2 separate regions of the Homo sapiens genome follow, and region 1 is linked to region 2. The links are contacts of gene promoters, found by promoter capture Hi-C in blood cells and fetal thymus (Javierre and others, 2016). All regions are on one chromosome and are shown on one strand. The core of a region is centred on a gene start or on the middle of the fragment in contact, and the rest is flanking DNA. Distances in the headings are between cores, read along the strand shown.

Region 1 (3,926 bases), core at 718-3,217, 230 kb after region 2:
TGATAGTTGTGAGTATTTCTGAGTATCGCCCATGCTGATGGACACATCAGCTGTATTTCAACGTGCTTTGCATGTGATGTCTTATCAGTAAAAGCCTAGCACTAGATATTAAGCAATCTGTGTGAGTCTATTGTAATTAGGCCCCCTCTTGTTTGAAAAATAAAATACACAGTGAGAATCACTACATTAGATTTTGAATGCTATGAATTTAAGTGTGAATATCCTGGTTGTTTTTTGGCTCACCACTGAAGTTATTCAAATGTGATAAGGAAATTGGTTCCCAAAGTGGGAAAGGATCAAAACCATGGAAATGAAAGACGTAATGAGAAACACAGGTGTATTGCTTGGAGACCGCCTAACACAGTTTAGTTGCCAGCCTAACGGGCTAAATTTAGAAGGCAGGAACAAAGCTTGTTTCTTCTCTTGATTTGTGGGATAAAATGGGTCACTGGGCATGAAATAATCAAAATTGCAAGTGGACCAGAACGGCTTCTATGTTATTTGGAGCTTGCCTCCAGGCCTGGGGCCTCCCCTCATGGACCTCAGTTTCCTTATCTAGTTTTTTTAAATTGCGGAGTGTTCCAGCATTGTTCAAGCCTAAGAATGCTCAGAAACCAGAGAACCTCTTTCTTCATGGGAAATTTTTCTTCTCAGAAGTAACCAAAACAGATGAAAACCACGGCTATTCTGGTTGGAAGGTGGTGGGGACAGGCATTTTCCCTCAGCTTTTCATCCTGTGTGGTCCTGAGTACTGGAAGAACCTCTAGTTCCTAAAAAAGCACCATCTGAAAATCCTGGGATGATGTAAGGAGAATTGGCTTTTCCATATCCTCCAAGCTGCATGTTGTTCTGCTTTCTGTTGCTCATGGCAGACCACCCAAAACCGAGTGCCAGGTTTTGGTCAGGAGGCGGGAGCAGGAGTGAGGGGGAAGCTGAGGCCAGAGCTTTTACCGGGGCTTCCATGAGAATGGCAGAGCAGAGGAGGGGAAACAGTTTAGGATGGGCTAGTTCAAATGATTCCAGTAGGCTTTGGGCTTTAGGGGTGGTCTCTAGTTGCCTGGTACCTAGCTCTGGGATGATTCAGGACAGGGGAAAATATTGGCTTGGTGTGTGAGAGTAAGATAAACGGGGTGGCTGGGGTATAGACTTGGAATTGATTGGTTTGCATAGGAAAGACAGGGTCTCAACACAAAGCCCTTGGCTAGCTCTAAGAATGGCTTAACCCCTGGAGGGGCAGTCTCTCCCTGGCCAGCCAGGTTTTTAAGATGTCAAAACATTATAAAAGACCTGGGCATGGTGGCACGTGCCTTGAATCCTAGATGGAAGGATTGCTTGAGGCCAGGAGTTCCAGACCTACCTGGACAACATAGCAAGACCTCATCTCTAAAAAAATAATTATAAGATACAGAAGACAAAAAATGTGACTAATACATAGGAGAACCTGGAGGAAGCCTCATCCAGGCTTTTATGACCCAGCTTTGGAACTCACAATGTCTGTCTCAGCCTGCTGTTTTGGTTGGAGCTAGCCTAAACCCACCCAGATCCGTAGCTGGGTGCCCAGCTATCCCAGTTTGCCAGGGAGTCTTTGCTGTTTTTTTGTTTTGTTTTGTTTGTTGTTGTTTAGACTGAGTTTTGCTCTTGTTGCCCAGGCTGGAGTGCAATGGTGCCATCTCAGGTCACTGCAACCTCTGCCTCCCAGGTTCAAGTGATTCTCCTGTCTCAGCCTCCCAAGTAGCTGGTATTACAGGCATGTGCTACCACACCTGGCTAATTTTTTGTATTGCTTTTTTTTGTGTTTGTTTTTTTGAGACGGAGTCTCGCTCTGTCGCCCAGGCTGGAGTGCAATGGCACGATCTCCACTCACTGCAAACTCCGCCTCCCAGGTTCGTGCCATTCTCCTGAGTAGCTGGGACCACAGGTGCCCGCCACCACGCCTGGCTAATTTTTTGTGTTTTTAGTAGAGACAGGGTTTCACCATGTTAGCCAGGATGGTCTCGATCTCCTGACCTCGTGATCTGCCTGCCTTGGCCTCCCAAAGTGCTAGGATTACAGGCGTGAGCCACCATGCCCGGCCGATTTTTTGTATTTCTAGTAGAGACAGGGTTTCACTATATTGGTCAGGCTGGTCTCAAACTCCTGACCTCAAGTGATTCACCCGCCTTGGCCTCCCAAAGTGCTGGGATTACAGGCGTGAGCCACCGTGCCCAGCCCTTTGCTAGTTTTGGGGACTTTCCTTGCTAGTACTGAGAATACCCTGGGCAAAAAGGGACAATTCAAGGGGAGGAGACCTAGACCTCACCTCTCGGGGAAGAAGCGGCCAGGTCACGTTGTAGGAGTACACACGCGATGGGAGATATTTCTGTAGCTATCTTTGGAAAACACAGCCTGCTATAATGCATCAGGAAGGGAAAGTGTCAACACAGACAGGAGCCAGGGCCTGGAGACTTGCCTGGTTCCCAGGAAGGGCACTGGTTACAAAAAGAGAAAGAAAAAGTTGCCAGAGATACAAGTAGAAGCGAATGCCCCAACAAGATCAGATGGCCATGTAAAAAAGCATTCCAATTCACAGTAAAGTTAGTGCACCTATGCATTTACAGATTCAATCTTTTTTTTTTTTTTTTTTTTTTTTGAGATGGAGTTTCACTCTTGTTGCCCAGGCTGGAGTGCAGTGGCATGATCTCGGCTCACTGCAACCTCTGCCTCTCGGGTTCAAGCGATTCTCCTGCCTCAGCCTCCTGAGTAGCTGGGATTACAGGTGCCCGCCACCATGCCTGGATAATTTTTCGTATTTTTAGTAGAGACAGGGTTTCATCATGTTGGCCAGACTGGTCTTGAACTCCTGACCTCAGGTGATCCGCCCGCCTTGGCCTCCCAAAGTGCTGGGATTACAGGTCTGAGCCACCACCCCCGGCCCAGATTCAATCTTTATTACATATACATTTAGAGTCAAATAGCTTATGACAATAATACAGACATTAAGGCGGTTTCAAGGATTTCACAACCAAGTTTTGCAGTTTATTTCAGTGGCACCTATTAATTACACATCACATCTAAACGTTGTCAGAGATTGGTTATATTTGGCTATATCTGGAAAAGTTCCTCAAGGCAGGAAAAAAAGGCTTTTAAGATATTCCCCTCAGAAATAAGACTTTGTAGCCCCCAAATATGGATTTGCCTTTTCATTCTGAAAGGTGATGAAAGGGGTTGGAGGGGTTGGGTCCAGATGAGCCTGGAGCAGCCCCTGTGTCCTGGGCATCACCACCCTTCCACCACACGGGGACTAGGCGGCAAGAAGAGGGGGTCACAGGAGGCTGAGCACGCACGCAGGATTCTGGGGTGAGCAGCAGGCAGACTCTTCACTGAGAGGGGCTCTCTAGTAATAGATTGCCAAAATGCTTCACACCTGAAGCAATGGTCCTCAAACACTGATGGAAGAAAGAGTCACATTTAGCATAGCAAGAAGGAGAAGAAATATGTCAGAATACACACCTGGAAATGTACAGGAGTACCCAGAGAAAAGCTTCAAATGAACAAAGGAACAGACAGGGAACTTGAGTAGATAAAGAGACATGTTCAGTCCTGAGAGAGGAAGACAGCATTACAAGGATGCCCCTCTCTCTAAGGTAATGTAAAAATTTAAGATGAGGCCGAAAAACAAAAACAAAAGCTTGAATTTTCCCTTTAGCTTAGTGATTTTGGGGGCCCAAGATATTTTCCTGGCTGGGTGCAGTGGCTCACGCCTATAATCCCAACACCTTGGGAGGCCGAGGTGGGTGGGTCACTTGAGGTCAGGAGTTGGAGACCAGCCTGGCCAATATGGTGTGGAAACCCCATCTCTACTAAAAATACAAAAATTAGCCAAGTGTGGTGGTGCACACCTGTAGTCCCAGCTACTCAGGAGACTGAAGCAGGAGAATTGCTTGAAC
Region 2 (3,518 bases), core at 50-2,549:
GGAGACCCACCCCAAAAGCAGAACAATCAATCCCTGTAATCCCCTCTCTGCCAATCCCTACCCCCTCCTTTGCAACAGTTAGAGTAATAAAGTTTATAGTAATGAGTTTTATGCTTCTCTAGTGATGAAATTCCATCAGTGTCGGTAAAAATGAAACCGCAAAGGTGGCCAGCACCTGGGTTCCTGCCAGCCTTGAAGCCCCCGTCCCTCCCTCCCAGCAAACCAACCACGGCCTGCACTGTGGGTGCCTGTCACAGAGCTGATGTCCTCGCGGGTCATCCCTCATCCCCGCATCCAGACACCGGGTCATGTCCCTGTGCTTCCTGCCCACTAACTGGGAGGATGACGCAGCGGCGCCGGGAGTCCAGGGCTGATTGGGCCGGCGGTTCCCGGAGCCGAGCCCGCGAACTCACAGCATCACCACCACTGGGAGCTCCTTCGCAATGCAGATTCCCGGAGCTCCAGACCCCAGGCAGAAACGCGCCCGCGTCCATGCTCCACGAGCCCCCTTGGGGTGCCGATGCCCTGGGTTTTCGAATCTGGTCTGCACCCTCCCTGGTCTCCAAGAGAGGTTGAAACTGAGACTGAGTGTGATTTACCGGAGTCCGGACGTGAACCGAGAGACGGGGAGGTGTTGGGGGGGGGCGTCATAAAGAGCTCCCCAGTGCAGAGGGGGAGGCCTGGGGGAACATGGGGGAGACGTGCCGGGCGGCCCCCGCCCCCCCAGGACCCCCACTCACTGCCGGTAGGGGTCGTGGAAGGGCAGCGCCAGCCAGGCGCCATGCAGCTCGCGCATGAAGTCCAGCATCTCCTGGGAGCTGCCGTCGGCTGACACGAAGACCACTTCGAAGGGCGCGGGCCGCCGCGCCTCGGCCACCAGCGCCGTATAGAAGTCGCAGAGCAGCGGCGTGAAGTCGCGGCTCGGCGCGCACCGGGCCGCCGCGAAGTACAGTGCCACCACCTTGTTCTGCAGCGCCGCCTCGGCCTCCACCGTCGCGCCCTTACAGGTCACCAGGTGCCGCTCGCCCAGAATGTCAACCATGGCGCAGACACGCAGCCACCTGAGACCCGAGGACACCTGCAGGAGGATGATCACCTGCGGGGAGGCGGCGGCGAGCGCCGCGGTGCCCCGCCTCTGTCCGCACCACCGGGCGCTGGACCTCTCAAGACCTGCCCCAGATGCGCCCACACCTTGGCCAGGCCTCGCCTGTGGCTGGAGCAATTGTGTTCGCGCCGACAATGAGACACTCAGACACCAGAGACCCCAGATACCTGGGCGACAGCGCGGCACCCGCCTCTGGGAGCGGGGCCAGCCAGGCAACCTCAAGCCCTCAGGTCTCTGCACCCTCCCCCAACTGCGCCCCGCCCACACTCCTGCGCCCTCCCACCACTGCGCCCCGCCCACATTCCCCGCAAGCTCCCCAACTGCGCCCCGCCCACATTCCGCACTCTCCACCCACTGCGCCCCGCCCACATCCCGCACTCTCCACCCACTGCGCCCCGCCCACATCCCCGCCCCCGCCCCCACTGCGCCTCGCCCGCATCCCCACACTGTCCCCCACTGCGCTGGGCCCACATCCCTACACTCTCCACCCACTGCGCCCCGCCCACATCTCCGCACCCTCCCCCACCGCACCCCGCCCACATCCCCGCACTCTCCTCCAACTGCGCCTCGCCCACATTCCACAGTTTCCCCTCACTGCGCCCCGCCCACATCCCCGCACTCTTCTCCAACTGCGCCTCGCCCACATTCCACAGTTTCCCCTCACTGCGCCCCGCGCACACTCCCGCTCCCTCCCCCACTGCGCCCCGCCCACACTCCCGCGCCCTCCCCCTCACTGCGGCCCGCCGACATCCCGCGCCCCCGCCCCCATCCCGACTGCGCCCCGCCCACCTCCCGCGCCCTCTCCCACTGGTTGTCCAGCCCACATCCTGCACTCCCTCCACTGCGCCCCGCTCACACTCCCGCACCCTCCCCACACTGCGCCCTGCCCACACTCCTGCACTCTCTCCCCACTACGCCCCCTACCACATCCCGCGCCCCCGCCCCCATCCCCACTGCGCCCCGCCCACACTCCCGCGCCCTCGCGCCCCTGGGCTCTCCCGTCGTGGGCACTCTCCCCAGCGCTTCTACACTTTCTCCCGACGCAGCGCCCTGCCCTCCGTCCCGCCCCACCTATTGCCTCCTGCGCTTCCCCCACACCGTGCTCTTCCTCCTCCTTCACTTCCTCCCACTCCTCGCGCTCCCCTTCAGCGCCCCACGCAGCCCCTCCCCCAAAACCCCGCGTCGCTCTCCTTCCCTCCTGGCCTCTCTTCCAGTCTCGCGCTCCCTGCCGGGCCCCGCCGCAGGTGTCCCGCAGCCGTCTCCCCAGGGCATTTGAATCTTGCCTTGGAGCTCTTGCCGCGCGGCCCAGCACCCTGGAAGAGGCATCAGGGAGGATGGGACGACGAGGAAGGGGAAGGGTAATTGGGCTTGGAGCGGGCTTGGGCGGGGTGGTAGGGAACCTGAGCTCCGTTGGTTCAGGGTGTTTGCCCCTGACATCCTGTGGCCTGGCTGGGAGGGTTCGTGAAGTTCAGGAAGAAATTGGGAGCAGTCCTTACAGAATGTTTTATTTGAAGAACCAAGAGTATTAATTTTTTGGCGAGCACTGTTGTAGGCCCTGGGAATTCAGCAGTGAGAAAAATAATTTCAACTCCCTGCCAGACCCGGGCTAGAAGGAGGCAAGCGAGCGAGGCACTCGCATAGGGGCAAAATTTAAGGGCGCGACAAAAAAACTCAGTAGTCAAGGTAAATAATGTTTTAATACAATATCTTAAAAAGTCAAAATGAATGCAAAAAAAGTTTATAATGAACAAAATATCAAAAACTTAAAGACAGTGAATGAAACCAAAATATGCCATCCTAAAATATGCCGCTTTGGTATATTGATTATTTTGAGCGAGAGGCACTTGAAAAATAGCAAATGCAGAGAGACGTTCTCCCCTTACCTGTCTAAAGACGGAACCTCCAAAAGAAACTGATTGTCGTAAATTCCCTCCCGGGAGGATGGACTCTTATCACAGCAGAAGTCCACACCACACCTAGACAAACTTTGTCACAAACTCATAAAGACTTATGCATCTTTCCTAAAAATCAGTTACTCTCCCCTAAGTGGCCTACACCAGCTTCCAGTTCCCCAATTTTAGAAGCTCTCAAAGCTCACTGGTTTGGGGGGTTTTCACCTAGTTTCCTGCAATGCCCCCATGCAGGTGATATTAAAGATTAATAAATGTGTATTCCCGTTCCCCCCGTTCATCTGCCCGTTGGCAGTTAATTTCATAGAGCCAGCTATGGAACTGGGGAGGACAGAGAGAAGGTCTTTGCTCTCCTAAGACAAGATGGATCCCCCACTGACTTTGGACTCCCGTCACGTTCACCGACCCCTGAGTCCTGCTCCTGTGCCTGCCTGGAGCTTATGTTCTAACGGGCACAAACAATAAATAAGGAAGATATTTTGCAGGTGCTATGCCAAAAGAAG

The links. Contacts are between HindIII fragments. The CHiCAGO score rates a contact against its expected background, and 5 or more counts as called.
Region 1: a contact is called between a fragment that was not itself captured here and the fragment with the promoter of NXNL2 in region 2, in 1 of 17 cell types (megakaryocytes). The highest score is 5.0, in megakaryocytes.

The regions. Positions count from the first base shown.
Region 1 is chr9:88,305,805-88,309,730 of GRCh38, reverse strand. No RefSeq gene overlaps it. Among named protein-coding and RNA genes, the nearest start is that of SPIN1, 81 kb to the left of the region's middle. The HindIII fragment of the contact is 3,110 bases long and covers 413-3,522 here.
Region 2 is chr9:88,532,959-88,536,476 of GRCh38, reverse strand. NXNL2 (nucleoredoxin like 2) reads right to left here and starts at 1,299. Exons shown (of 2, transcript NM_001161625.2): 1 at 741-1,299. The coding sequence starts at 1,042. LOC105376134 (a long non-coding RNA gene) reads left to right here and starts at 1,937. Exons shown (of 2, transcript XR_007061653.1): 1 at 1,937-2,463. RefSeq lists enhancers at 1-678, 679-1,513. The HindIII fragment of the contact is 6,313 bases long and covers 1-3,518 here.